2 separate regions of the Homo sapiens genome follow, and region 2 is linked to region 1. Evidence: promoter capture Hi-C in human tissues and cell types (Jung and others, 2019). All regions are on one chromosome and are shown on one strand. Each heading gives the region's core, a stretch centred on a gene start or on the middle of the fragment in contact. The rest is flanking DNA. Distances are from core to core; before and after follow the strand shown. Region 1 holds the start of C1QL1 (complement C1q like 1). Region 2 overlaps LOC107987243 (a long non-coding RNA gene).

The links. The method cuts DNA at HindIII sites, captures the fragments that hold promoters and counts their contacts. A contact is called where the count stands out against the background at its distance.
Region 2: a fragment that was not itself captured here is called in contact with the fragment with the promoter of C1QL1 in region 1 in 1 of the 25 tissues and cell types used here (mesenchymal stem cells).

The regions. Positions count from the first base shown.
Region 1 is chr17:44,963,662-44,971,002 of GRCh38, forward strand. It overlaps C1QL1 (complement C1q like 1), which reads right to left and starts at 4,642. Exons shown (of 2, transcript NM_006688.5): 1 at 3,791-4,642. The coding sequence starts at 4,387. It also overlaps the pseudogene LOC112268183. RefSeq lists silencers at 4,573-4,932, 6,769-6,838. The HindIII fragment of the contact is 17,092 bases long and covers 1-7,341 here.
Region 2 is chr17:45,005,445-45,012,785 of GRCh38, forward strand. It overlaps LOC107987243 (a long non-coding RNA gene), which reads right to left. Exons shown (of 6, transcript XR_007065771.1): 2 at 2,845-3,039. Among named protein-coding and RNA genes, the nearest start is that of C1QL1, 41 kb to the left of the region's middle. RefSeq lists enhancers at 204-1,160, 2,691-3,191, 7,180-7,341. The HindIII fragment of the contact is 3,219 bases long and covers 1,262-4,480 here.

The DNA.
Region 1 (7,341 bases), core at 3,392-5,891:
GTGATCCGCCCGCCTCAGCCTCCCAAAGTGCTGGGATTACAGGCGTGAGCCACTGTGCACAGCCTTCTTAGGTCTTTATACCACCACCTTCAATTTATATATGCCAGCACCTCTCGCCACACTCAGATTCTGTTGTCAAACCCCTGGCCCATTGGTGATACTCACCTCCCCACAGCCTCCTACCCTGGATAAGCAGCACCCTGACCACAGGCCCTGGCACATCCTCACAAAGCCCCCTGCCCAGTTTATTAATTTTGTGTCCTCTCCAACCCACCTGAACTGTGGATCTTGGAGGCAGCTGCAGGCAACTCACCACACCCAGGGCCCCACTGCCAACCCAGAGTCCTTTCCCCAGGCTCCTTGCATCCTAATGGCCAGGACTTGGTGCCATCAGGGGTGCTGATGCAAGGCTACCCCTAAGGACTGGGGCCAGTGGGCCTCAGATAAGGACAGAGGGAGCCTCAGTGCCAGGCATGAAGGTGGTGCTCCCCATCCCGAACTTGCCCGGAGAGGAGGCAGAGCCCAGATTCAGCTCTGCCTCCCTAAAGAAATTCTGGAAGCCTCTCTACAGGCAGGAAGCCAGGAAGGAAAAGCGCAGTGCTCAGGGTGGCCCCTGGTTCTGAAGTCACAAGAGATACAAGCTTCTCTCTTTTGTTCCCATACATTGTCTGGTCCTGCCATTTTTTTCTCTGCTTATTTAAATGTCCTTGTCCACCTCTGAGCTGGCTTTCCCCTACACTTGACCTTTTATATTCTCCCTTGTGGTATCTCCTCACTTTGCAGACCAAGGTTCACCATCTTCTCCCCCTGCATCAGGTTGGTCTGCACCAGGGTAGGCCCTACTGAAGCACTCCCTCCCAGCCAACACATTTGGGGACCAAAGTCATCAGCTGGGCTCCCAGCCCACCTTTAACACAGTATTCGCTGGGGCGTGTGGTTGTATGTTATGAATGTTCCCCCTGCATAGGCCATGAGGTCTTGGAGGGCAAGTGGACTGAACTCCTACAAAGCCTCAAATCTGGCTCCTAGTAGGGGCTCAAAACTAACAAGTGGGATGGCTAGTGAGATCAAATGAGTCTCTTGGGCAATTTGGAAGAAGTCATAAAGGACATGGGAGAGGGGGCTACGGGCCCCACTATTTCTCCTGGTTTTCTTTTCTTTTCGTTTTTATCTTTTCTTTTCTTTTCTTTTTTTTTTGAGACAGAGTCTCACTCTGTTGCCCAGGCTAGAGTACAGTGGCGAGATCTCACCTCATTGCAACCTCTGCCTCCTGGGTTCAAGTTATTCTCTTGCCTCAGCCTCCTGACTAACTGGGATTACAGGTATGCACCATCACGCCCAGCTAATGTTTGTATTTTTTTTTTTTTTTGAGACGGAGTCTCGCTCTGTCACCCAGGCTGTAGTGCAGTGGCGCGATCTCAGCTCACTGCAAGCTCCGCCTCCCGGGTTCACGCCATTCTCCCGCCTTAGCCTCCCAAGTAGCTGGGACTACAGGTGCCTGCCACCACGCCCAGCTAATTTTTTGTATTTTTAGTAGAGATGGGGTTTCACCGTGTTAGCCAGGATGGTCTTGATCTCCTGACCTCATGATCCACTTGCCTCGGCCTCCCAAAGTGCTGGGATTACAGGCGTGAGCCACCGTGCCTGGCCTAATGTTTGTATTTTTAATAGAGATGGTGTTTCGCTGTGTTGGCCAGGATGATCTCAAACCCCTGACCTCAGTTGATCCATCTGCCTCAGCCTCCCAAAGTGCTGGGATTACAGACGTGAGCCACCAGGCCCAGCCTCTCCTGTTTTTCTTTTGAGGGGGCTGGTCTGAATAACTATTAAAGTGCTGGGCCTTTGAAACCCCTAGTTAAAGCCACCTCCTTTTTTCCTACTAGCCTGTGGTCCCATCTCCAGTGAGCACCCCTTCATCAGACTCTGTCAACACCCTGCCCCTGCTGGAGGGAAAAGGAGCTTTTGAGATGGTTTTACCTCCCAGTGACTGAAGCAAGTTCCCCATTCTAAGCACATAGCATCTCCGGGGCCTCTTGTTGCCTCATCTCTGGGGACCTGCTGGGACTTCCTGAGGTGGTGCAGGGTCTAGGGCCAACCTGTGGCCCAATGACTGCCTCCCTATCCAGGCAAGCTGCCAATCCCCTGAAACCTCAGCTCTGTGTCAGCCCAAACTTCTTTGGGAAAGGAAGACATTCCATTGATGAAGGTGACATTGCTGCATCCCTTATTGGTGATTAATAGGGGGAATCATGGGGCTGTCTGCAGAATGAGCCTTTGCTGGATACTGGGGCCTCCCATTTGGTCAGGAACCAAGGACAAAGAGGAGAGACACGGGGATGTCTGATAGACACACGTGGGAAAGAGAGACATACAAGGAATAGAGAAGAGTGGGGTTAGATCCGGGGAGGAGAGGCCAGAAACCCAGGGAGAGATGGAAAAGGCAGACACAGGAGAGAGATGGACAAGAAACAGCAAAATAGAAGAAAGAGGCAGGGGAGAGGCAGAAACCAGAGAAAAGGTGTTGGCGGGGCAGCAGCCAGGCAGAGGAAAGAGAAGAAGGGCTGACTTATAAGCACCTGGCAGGCTATCTGCTCACTTTCCCTGCCTGCCCCTGTCTCTGCCCCTAAGACTTGCAGACCCGCAGGCTGGCAGAGCCTCAGGGCAGTGCTGCTGTGGGAAGGGTTCCAACAAGGTCTTGTATCTTAATCGTGAGAGATTCCTTCTCAACTTCCACTAGCTCAGCTTTAGTTCTGACCAGTGGTCCCCTTCTTCGAAGAGAATGCTCAGCCTGACCACACCCCCAGGTCACAGGCCACCACGAGTGAGAGCACTGGGAAGGGAGGTGGTATCAAGAGAGCTGGCTAAAATTGTCACCCCAGGGCGGGGCTGGGTGGAGGCTGGTCCTGGGGTCGGCCATTCCAAGGAGAGCTACACGCACATGCGAGTCCCGGTACCAGAGTCCCCGACACACTCAGTGCTTTCCAGCTGCAGCGTCTGAGATGGGGACGGAGAATGGAGAGGACCCCACACACTCCAGAGTCAGGAGGGGCTGGAGCTGGGAGACCAAGAGGAGGGGGAGTTTCCATCTCTTCCACCACCCCCCACCCCCCACCCCCTCCCCGCCTCAGGAGGAAAAACTCCCCCGCCCCCCAGACTGCCTTCTTTTTGGGGAAGCTCTGCTACAGTGGGAAACAGCTCCCCAACTCCCGGATTTTGCAAAGGGTGTCAGATTCGCCCAATGGTCCCTTCTCCAGGGCAGGGGAGGCACTGCAGCCAGGGCTGTAAGCACCGGGCTCCCTTTGCCTTTGTGCCCCAAACATTTCCTGCAGCCAGCCTTCTCCGCTCGCGCCCATGGCCACGCGCCTAGGCGCCCGCGGGCGCGGATGCTGCTTCTCCCTGTTCCATACGCCAGAGCCCATCCTTGCCCTCCCCTTATCGCCCACTGCTGTCGGCCCGAATCCACTTCCCAAGGGGCAAGCCCCCAAGGGCAAGTCCGTGCACCTGGGAGCCCTGCGCTCTGACTAGTTGGGTTCATTTCCCGCATTTCCAGTAGCGTTCCAGACGGTGCCCAGCAGCGTCTGTCTTGGAGCGGGAACCCAGGAACTGAGGATCGGCGATGTCCGCTGGCTCCGACCATCCCCACACGTGATGACCAAGCGGGGCCGCTGTGGGGTGGGATCTCCACCTGCGTCCGCCTGGCGCCCCCGCCAACTCCGATCAGGTACCCATTTGCCCCGGGCTCCCTGGGTGCCCTGGGCCCAGCCCAGCCCCATGCCCCCGCCTGGCCCACCTGGCCATTCTTGCAGAGGTCTGCCCACATACTGGTGCCGTCGCCGCCGCGCATGAGGACATGGTAGGTGAAAAAGTAGGTGCCGGGAATGTTGCACGTAAACTTGCCGCTGGCCGCGTCGTAGTTGTTGCCTAGGTTGGTGACCACGTCGTCAAACTTGAGTACCTCGTAACCCTCGTGGGGGTTCTTGAGGCCGGCGTAGAAGGCCACGCGCGGCACCGTGGTGTAGGTGGCAGTGCTGATGGCGCCGCTGCCCCCCGCGCCCGGCAGCCCCGGAGGGCCCGGCTTGCCTGGCTCACCCTTCTCCCCCGGCGGCCCCACAGGGCCGGGAGGACCTGGGTCCCCGGGAGGCCCCGGAGGGCCGGGCTTGCCGGTGCGGCCCGGCTTCCCCTGGGGGCCCTGCACCAGCGTGGAAGGCGGGGGCGCGCCGCTCTGCTCGCTCAGGGCGTCGCCGCCGTCGGTCCGCGCGCCGGCGCCGGGGCCCCGCGCGGGGTAGGGGTCGCACACCATGCGGCAGGTGCCCAGCATCTCATAGTGGCCTTCCGGGCCGCCCGAGCTCACCAGCACGGGGATGAGCACCACCAGCACCAGCAGCATCACCACACCCGCGGCGGCCGCTAGCAGCGTCTTTCGGCCCGCGCGGAGCCTGGGGAGCGCCGGGCCGCCCGGCCGCGCCGTCGGGGCAATGGTGCCGGCGGGCAGGGGGCGCGGGCTAGGCGCCCGCGCTCAAGGACGGTCCGGCGGGGCTGCGGGCATGGGGCCGGGCCCGGGGCGCCGCGCTGCGCTGGCTGCGCTGCGGAGCCCAGCCGCCGGCTCCTGCCTCGCGCCTCCCTCCTGCTGCGCTGCCGGACTGAGCGCCGCGGCCGCCGCCTCCCGCCTCCCGCCTCCCGCCTGCAGCCTCCCGCCTGACTCCTCCCGCCTCCTTGAGCCGGGCCACCGCCCCCTCGGCCGGGCCCCGCCCCGCCAGCTCCGCGCGGCTCTGGGCTCTCTAGGGGTGGGGCTGCGGGCGGGGCCGGCGCCTAATTGGGCCGCGGGCGCCTCGAGGTGGGCGGGGCATAAGGGGGCGGGGCCGCGGAGACCCCGGGCGGGAGCAGGGAGAGGAAAGAAGAGACTGAGTACGCGGAGACCGAGATTCGGAAATGGGGTGGGGGCCGGGGTCCGAGAGACCCGAGAGGCGCTCCAAGGGAAGGGGAGAGTAGGGACCAAAATGCGAAAGGGAGAGAGGGCCACAGGGAGAGCTAGAGAGCTCCGAGGGGATCGGGAGAGGAGAGGCTTCGAGGGTCGGTCACCAGGAAAACAGAGGGACTGGGGTCGCGACGGGCCAAGACCCGCAGGGGGCGGAAGCGAGGGGATAGCGCCCAGGTCTGCAGGGGACAAAGAGCGATTGAGGGGAGGACGGAGCGGGGAGCTGGAAGGTAGGATGAGAAAGGGGGTTATGAAGCGAAGAAGAGGATACGGAGGGGACCATTTGGCACTCAGGCCTCGCAGACCACCCGTCTGGGAGATCCAGATATCGGATGAATGCCTGTCCGGGGGCCCAGCGGAGCCAGACGGCAGCCGCCTCCTCCTTTCTGGATCTGACTGTTCCGGGACCCGTCTCCCCCGAGGTGGGGCAGGAGCTTCCAACCCCTCCTCGCCTCTGCCCCTTCCTCACCGAACTGTGGCCAGGCTGCTTTTTCCTGGGCCCTTTTCTTCCATCTCCCTCTGCTCAATCCCTTTACTTCTGCCTCTAGACCAGGGAGAAAAGGGGATCCTAAAAAGGTGGGCACCCCCACGTTATTTCTCCATGCTGACAGATGCAAATACGTCCCTGAGGGGTAACCCCCTTTTCCAGCCTCCAGGATGAGGGGTGGATCTCATCCAGCCCCTCAGCTCCTCCTCCCTCACTCCCCAGCCTCCTCCGCCGCCCCCTAACTCTTCTCCCCATCAGGCTGTGGGAGGCTCTCCTCTTCCTCAAGTGCAGCAAAGTGTTTAGGTTGCATAAACCGAAACGTGTCTGCTTCCATCAAAATATTTGTCACATTATCTGAGGCCCAGGTCGGGCTGCTCCACCGCTCCTCCTTCGCCCTCCTTTATCCGGCCCACCGGGGAGGATTCAGCCATTCGGAGGCGACTGGCCGGCTGCTAAAGAATGACATCCCAGCCTCTCCTCTCCCGAGAGCTACCCCCCGCCGGCTCACACTCTCCCTGTTGACCCTTCACCATGGGCAAAATGATTCCCTGGCCTTCCCTACCCAAGGTTGAGGTCGCTCACCTCATCCAGGGCTGGGAGTAGAAGGACACAGGGACATCCAACGAGGGGGCTGTGAAAGAGGACCCTCCAAGCACTAATGGCTGAGGCCAGGTTGGAGTGACCCCACCACCACCAAGGAGGGAGCTAAAAAATTTTCAATAAGTAGCATTTATTCAGGGTTTACTCTGTGCTAGGCCCTGTGTTGAATGTTTTACATACATGATCACCCTTGATCTTCACATCAGTCCAAAGAAGTAAAATCCAAGATTATTTTAATTTTACAGATGGAGAACTGAGGCTCTGGGAAGTTAAGAGATTTGCTTAAAGTCACACAACTAATAAGTGGGAGAGCCGGGACTCAAACTCGTAGCCTGGCTCCAGGCTCTTCCAACCTCAGCGCGATAGAGTCTCTAGGTACCGTTTACTGCCCAAAGCCCAGGGGTAGGGGGCTCAGGGCAGCCAGACCTCCCTAGGCTCAGGAAGAGTAGTCTTCAGCGCTCGGCTGTCAGGCAATCCGGTCCCCGGTTCCCCACGGCGGTCTCCTCGGTGTGCCCCACCAAGAGCGACAGGGCTGGTGACCCGAGGGGCGCGTGCGCGGTCGTCAGCCTGGGATTTGCACGGACCCCCTTCTCCCTAGTACGCTCGCTCGGGGGCCCCTCCTCTGCTACGCCGCTGGGGCTCGCCCGCCACCCACAGCCCTCGCAGAGCCCTCCGGGCACACCGCGGCTGGCCGCCCGGGGCCAAGGATGGGGCGGGAGCGCCCACCCACCCCCGCGCCGGCCGGGGCATCCAAGAGGCGCGCTCGCAGCCACACGGCGCCCCGCCTCCCGCTCCGAAAAAGCTCCTGCTCCCCTGGCGCGGTGTGGCGTCTCCGTCAGCCCAGCCGGATTCTCCCCGCTTCGCTGGAGTGGAAAATAACGGCTTCAAACTTTGCAGAGAGGAGCTGGTGCCAGCACTTTAATTAACAGCCATCTTGGCCTGTGAGCTGGGGCCACCGGCTTGGCGCCTCCCCTGGGCTCGCCAAGCCCCGCCCTGGCTCCGCCCAGGCCCCCAAAGAAGCACCCCTTAACCACCTACCCGACCCTCCACCCCCATCCCCTGCTCTCAGCGCCCCTCTTTCCGGGAGATGAGGGCTTGGCTGATTGGGGAGAGAGTGCTGCCTTGAGGGGCATCTCCCAGCTTAACACCTGAAGACAGTCACAACCCCCCCATCCGCCATACTGCCCCCCAACATTGTTTAAAGCTGGACTGTTGAAGATTCTGAAATTAAAGACCTGAGTGCCAGCCGGGCGCGGTGGCTCACGTCTGTAATCCCAGC
Region 2 (7,341 bases), core at 1,621-4,120, 40 kb after region 1:
CTCAGCCTCCCAAAGTGCTGAGATTACAGGCATGAGCCACCTAAGCGATTTTTTTTAAAAAGTGTTGAGTGAGGCAGGAGGATCACTTACGCCCAGGAGTTTGAAGTTACAGTGAGCAATGACTGGGCTACTGCACTCCAGCCTGGGTGACAGAGCAAGACCCTATCTCTAAAAAAATAAAAAATATTTAAAAAGCATTGGCTGGGCACTGTGGCTTATACTTGTAATCCCAGCATTTTGGAAGGCTAAGGTGGGAGGATCACTTGAGCTCAGGAGGTCAAGACTAGCCTAGGCAACATAGTAAGACCCCATTTCTACAAAAAATTTAAAATATTAGCCAGGCATGGTGGTGTGCACCTGTAGTTTCAGCTTCTCAGGAGGCTGAGGCAGGAGAATTGCTTGAACCCAGGAGGTAGAGGCTGCAGTGAACTATGATGGAGCCAATGCACCCGAGCCTGGGTAACAGAGCAAGACCTCATTTCTAAACAAAATAAACAATTTTTAAAGAAGTGTTGACATGGTGTTTGTTAAGGTGTGGAGAAAAGGAGTTACAGAGAGCCCTGAGAAAGCCAGACCTCAAGACCATGAAGATGCGTCCTTCCTCCTGGCCCCTCAACCTTTCAGCACACCCCTCCCCTCTCCTCCTGCCCCAATCCCAGGCCCACTCTCGCTCCTGGCACCTGGCTGAGCTCTGGCTCGGGGTGGGGAGGGACATCCTTAGCTGCGAGGCAGATGGGCTCTACAAGGCTCAGCGCCTACAAGCCCCTGCAGAATTGGCCACCAAAGAGTTGGTGCTGGACTTCTCTAGCCTCATGGAGAGCCAGAGCACAGGGAGAACCAGTGCAAATGGCTTCCTTCGTTCCTGGGAGGGGTCTTGGGGGTCACCTAGGACCCTCTCTTTGACAGATGGGAAAACCAAAGCTCAGAAAGGTTAGCATATGTTCAAACACCAGTCATCTGTCTAGCAGGGAGAAAGGGTGATCCCAGGAGCAGATAAATCCAAATCCCTTTCAAAGGCCCTCCTGGATCCTGGAAAATCAAATGTTCTTTCCAACTCTGCTTCCTTGGGCTAGTGTTTGAGCAAAAGTCTATTCCAGGTGGGCTGGGACTGGGGGCAGAGGAGGGAAGGAAATTGGCAGGAAAGTAGTTTTCTAAGTGGCTGATGGCTGCTTTGGGCAGGAGACAGGCTGCTAGGAACCTGTTCCCTCCAACCCCCTCCAACCCCCTCCAACCCCCTCCAACCCCTCCAACCCCCTCCAACCCCCTCCAACCCCCTCCAACCCCTCCAACCCCCTCCAACCCCCTCCAACCCCCCCAACCCCCTCCAACCCCCTCCAAACCCCCCCAACCCCCTCCAACCCCCTCCAACCCCCTCCAACCCCCTCCAACCCCCTCCACAACCCACTTGCCTGGGAAGCCTTTCTCCCCACACCCATTTTCTCTTTCCGGCTGAGGCTTACCCTCCATCTACGATGAACGTGGGGGGCCTGGGGAGAGGTAGGGGGCTGGGAAGCAGTCCTGTCTGCCTTTCGAACCTCATGGGCAGGTGGGGCTCCCCTGCCTGACATTCCTATGCTGCTCCCGCCCCCGCGTGGCTCCTCTGATGCCCAAATCGCCTTTTCCCAGATCCAATTAAAACAGCGTTTGGAGCAAGGTTGAAATAATCACATAATAATTTTCTCCAGTAAAGTTACTGGCTGGAGCCCGATTTGAAAGCTGAGCTGGTAATTGAATCTGAGGGGCAGCGACAGAAGAGGAGCTGGGGGGAGTGGTGGAGACTCCTTGTGGGGCCCAGAGGCTCCCGGCTGTGATTACCCCTCCCACCATTGGTAATAGGTGTTGCAACCCCCTCCTACTGTCCATCTCCATTTCACTCCCTCCCTCTAGTAACAGATGTCTCTTGGGGCTACAGAACTCCCAGACTTCAACAGGAGAACAGGCCCAGAGCCCATGCCATCAGACTTTCTCGGTTCACAGGCCAGACTGGGGAGGCCACATGCCCACAGTCACCCAGAGAGGTCAAGCAAAGCCAGGACTCCAACCCAGGTCTCGGACTCTCCAGCCACTGTTTTTTTTGTTTTTTTTTTTGACAGAATTTTGCTCTGTCGCCCAGGCTGGAGTGCAGTGGCACGATCTCAGCTCACTGCAACCTCTGCTTCCCGGGTTCAAGTGATTCTCCTGCCTCAGCCTCCCAAGTAGTTGGAATTACAGGCGCATGCCACCACACCCAGCTAATTTTTGTATTTTTAGTAGAGACGGGTTTCCACCATGTTGACCAGGCTTGTCTCAAACTCCTGATCTCAGGTGATCCACCTGCCTCAGCCTCCCAAAGTGCTGGGATCACAGATGTGAGCCACTGTGCCTGACCCAGCCACTGCTTTAATCTCCACTTCAGGTTTCCTGACTCCCAGGCCCTCCCCACTCTCTCCTGCTCTGCCCATCTTCCTCCACCATCTCCCAGGATTTCCTGGTCCCACCCTAACCTCTCTGCAGCAGGGAGGGGAAGTGACTACCTGCATGATCTCTGGGCCAGCGGGCTGTGCAGCAGGGGCTCCCTGCACATCAACAGCTGACATGACCAGACTGGGCAGCCCTGCTTGGTCCTCCACCATGTCCTCCCTCTCAGCATTTGACTGGGGGCTCAGACTATCTGCCATGTGTGGCTCATTCATTTCTTCCCTCCTCCCTTTCTTTCCTCCACTCTAAATATTCTTTATGTCCCTACTGCCTGTGAGGCCCTGAGCAGGATCCTCCCGCAATCGGGAGGTATAGACAGAGCGGCAGCTGTGCTCACAGGCCCGTGGCAGAGGTGAGCAAGTTAACACAACAAGAGGGGGCCCTCACCTGCAGCTGGGGGACGGGGCATCCTGGCTGAAGTGACCTCTAAGCTGACGTCTCAAAGCTGAAGAGAAGTGCGTGACTCAAGACAAATGCAAAGGCTGGGAAGCAGGAAACGCCCGGGTGTGATCTTGGGCAAGTTGAGGTCTCAGTTTCCTCATCTCTAGAATGAACTCCTGGCTCAGTTTGCCTCGTGAGATTCTGGGGAAGAACGAACATGGAGGTGTCTGTAAGATGGAAAATCCCACTTAACTGATGATCGTTTTTTGTTTTTTTTGAGACAAGATTCTACCCTTGTCAAGGCTGGAGTGCAGTGGTGTAATCACAGCTCACTGCAGCCTCGAACTCCTGGGCTCAAGCAATCCTCCTGCCTCAGCTTCCCCAGTAGCTGGGATTACAAACGTGAGCAACCTTACCTGGCTAATTTTCTTTCTTAAAATTTTGTGTAGAGACAGGGGTCTTGCTATGTTGCCTGGGCTGGTCTCAAACTACTGGCCTCAAGTGATCCTCCCACCTCAGCCTCCCAAGGTTGAGGATTAAGGCGTGATTAAGTGCTGGAATTACAGGAGTGACCCATTGTGCCCAGCCAATGATTGTTGCTAATGGAGGGCATTTGTCCCCTATCCTAGACAAGGGACAGAGTCTGGGGGCGGGGTGGGTCAGTGGTCGGGGTGGTGAGGGAGGCCGGAGGTGGGAGGAATGGGAATCGAGGACTTGCTCTGCAGAGTCCTTGTGGCTATTCGAGACTGGAAGCCAGCAGCTGGATGGGGGCGTTTTCTCACCACATGGCTGGGAGTTGTGGGGATGGAAGAAACCATAGGGTTTGGCCGGGTGCGGTGGTTCACACCTGTAATCCTAGCACTTTGGGAGGCTGAGGCAGGTGGATCACCTGAGGTCATGAGTTCGAGACCAGCCTGGCCAACATGGTGAAACCCCATCTCTACTAAAAATAAAAACCAGCTGGGCATGGTGGCGCGTGCCTGTAATCCCAGCTACTCGGGAGGCTGAGGCAGGAGGATCGACTGAACCTGGGAGATGGAGGTTGCAGTAAGCCAAGATCGCAGCATTGCACTCCAGCCTGGGCGACAGAGCAAAGAAACCACAGGGTTGGTGGCTGCTGGCAGGGCTAAGTCTGGTTCCTCTGGCCAGTGCCCAGCTTCCCCACGCTCACTATCCTCTGGGCCTGGGGCATGCTAAGCCCCAGGAGTCAAGGTGGGACTCTGAAGGGATCTACTCCCCTCCCTGCACCTCTCAGCCAATCAATGTCTGCTCTGCCCTCCCTGACTTCAGCAGAGTTGGTGCCAGATCCTGGAACTCACTGATTGGTTGAGGGAGCAACCCCTCTGCCCACCCCTCACCATGGAGGCTTTTGGAGAGACCTAGCCATGGGCAAGCTTTGTGCCCTGCAAATGGCTCAGTGGTACCAACCACTGAGCTGCCTGCCCCTGGGCCCTCATAAGACCATGTCTGCAGCCTCAGTGGCCTTCTGGGCACGGCTGGCCTCCTGGTCAGCAGCTGTAGGGGTGAGTCACGGCTCTCATTAGAGCTTAATTAATCAATTGAGCTAATCAGACAGCTGTGATGTGCTGTGGTTGCAGATGGGGGGGAGAGGGAGAGAGTTGGAGCGTGAGGGACTGGTAAGGCGAGCTGGGGCTGGCAGGGCCTGGAGTGGCGGCAGGGCCTGGAGTGGCAACAGAGTCTGGTGGGTTGGCAAGGGCGGAGGGCGCTGGAAAGGAGGATGAATGATCCTGACAAAGGCCCGTGATAGGTTGCTCTGAAAGGTGACCTTGGCAAGGTGCCAGAGACCGAGGCTGGGGGAGGAGGAAGCAGGACCTCTCCCACCTCCAGCTTCCTCTCTCATTTTTTATCTTGTTAAGTGTGTCTCCAAAGCTTTTTGAAATCCTCCACTGAATGGGATGGGAAAAGGAGACAAAGACAAAAAAAGGTAGGTCCTCACATTCCCAGTGATCCCAGTCTGATGGGGGAGGCCAGAGGTCTACTGGCAGCACAGACAGAGACCCAGACTAAGAGATGGAGACAGAGACACGGTGTCTCTCCAGGTGAGCTGCTCAGGCTTGGACATCTGGACTGGGTGGATGGGGAGGAGCCAGAGGGACCAGAGCCAAGGGTAGGCGGGAGTCCAGTAAGAATATTGGGAGGAGGGGAGCGCCTGAGCGGGTTTTACAATGTGATGTGCAAAATCTTGTTTCATCTATTTTTTTCTCACATCCGACCTTGGTGTTACCTTGGGGTGGGGAGCGAGCAGGGCAGGAAGTGCAATGGTGGGAAATGGGTTCCGAGAGGACTCATGGACAGCTGGGATAGCTCTGCCCTCCAGGGGCTTCCATTTCCAGAGGCTTACCGGGAGTCTGAGGCTGTGAGAGAGAAAGATCCAGGGCCTGGGACATGCAAGGGGCTACGGGAGATGGATCAGAGGAGGGCAAGCATTTCTGATGAGGCTACCTGGTAAGGATTCCTCCCAGAAGAGGTGGCATTTGAGCCAGGTCTTTCAGAATGGATGGATTTCAATCAGCAGAATTGGGTGTGGAGAGGAAGAAGGATGTTGCAGGAGGAGAAGCGGCCCAGGCAAAGGCAGAGAGGCTGGACAGCCTTAGGCAGGGCCAGTTGGCACAGCAAGTTGGGCCGGAAACAAGGTTACTGTTTGTGTCAGGTGGAAAGAGCTTGATGGTGAAGGGCTCTTGGAATCCCAAACCAAGGAGTTTGAAAGGGAATTTGGTAGACACTAGGAATCACTGTAAGTCTCTAACTGGGAAGAATAGGCTGAAAGTAGCTGTACAGAGAGGATGTCTATGGAAACAGTTCTTTGTAGGATGGAACCAAGAAGGAAGAAACCTGAAACAAGAAGAAAGAAATGGCAGGTGTGGTGACTCACACCTGTCATCCCAGCACTTTGGGAGGCTGAGGCAGGCAGATCACGAGGTCAGGAGTTCAAGACCAGCCTGGCCAACATAGCGAAACCCTGTCTCTACTAAAAATACAAAAATTAGCTGGGCATGGTGGCACATGCCTGTAGTCCCAGCTACCCGGGAGGCCGAGGCAGGAGAATCGCTTGAACCTGGGAGGTGGAGGTTGTGGTGAGCCAAGATTATGCCACTGCACTCTGGCCTGGGCAACAGAGTAAGACTCTATCTCAAAAAAAAAAAAAAAAAAAAAGAAGAAGAAGAAGAAGAAAGAAAGAAAGGCCGGGCGCGGTGGCTCATGCCTGTAATCCCAGCATTTTGGGAGGCCAAGGCGGGCGGATCACTTGAGGTTGGGAGTTCGAGACCAGCCTGACCAACATGGAGAAACCCTGTCTCTACTAAAAAATACAAAAGTAGGCAAGCATGGTGGTGCATGCCTGTAATCCCAGCTACTCAGGAGGCTGAGGCAGGAGGATCGCTTGAACCTGGGAGGGGGGAGGTTGCAGTGAGCCGAGATTGTGCCATTGCACTCTAGCCTGGGCAACAAGAGCAAAACTCCGTTTCAAAAAAAAAGAAAGGCCAAGTGCAGTGGCTCACACCTGTCATCACAACACTTTGGGAGGCAGAGGTGGGAGAATTACTTGAGGCCAGGAGTCCAAGGTCAGCCTGGGCAACATTGAGAAGCCCCATCTGCACAAAAAAAGAAAAAAAATTAGCTCGCTGTGCTAATGCACTACAGGTGCATGCACCTGTAGTCCTAGTTACTTGCAAGGCTGAGGAGGGAGGATCACTTGAGTCCAGCAGTTGTAGACTGCAGTGAGCTATGACCATGCCACTGTACTCCATCCTGGGTGACAGAGCAAGACCCTGTGTAAAAATAAATACATAAATAAGTAAAAGAAGAGGCTGGGCCAGGTGGCTCACACCTATAATCCCAGCACTTTGGGAGGCTGATGCAGGCAGATCATTTGAGCCCAGGAGTTTGAGACCAGCCTGGGTAACGTGGCAAAATCTGGTCTCTACCAAAAATACAAAAAATTAGCTAGATGTGGTGTTGCGTGCCTAGGGTCCCAGCTACTTGGGAGGCTGAGGTGGAAGGATCTCTTGAGCCCAGGATGTTGAGGCTGCCATGAGCCATGTTTGTGCCACTGCACTCCAGCCTGGGTGACTGAGGGAGATCCTGTCTAAAAATAAATAAATAAATAAATAAATAAATAAATAAATAAATAAAGTTAAATCCCAGATCTATCCCTTAGTTGCAGTCTGCAAAAGAAATAACTGAGGGGCTGGGCACCTCAAAGTGTAATCCTAGCACTTTGGGAGGCTGAGGCAGGTTGATCACCTGAGGTCAGGAGTTCAAGACCAGCCTGGCCAACATGGCAAAACCCCGTCTCTACTAAAAATACAAAAATTAGCGGGTATGGTGGTTTGACTATAATCCAGCTTCTCCGGAGGCTGAGGCAGGAGAATCGTTGAATTCTGGGGGCGGAGGTTGCAGTGAGCCAAGATTGCGCCACTTCACTCCAGCCTGGAAAGAGTGAAACTCAAAAACAAAAACAAAAACAAAGATATAACTGAGGGC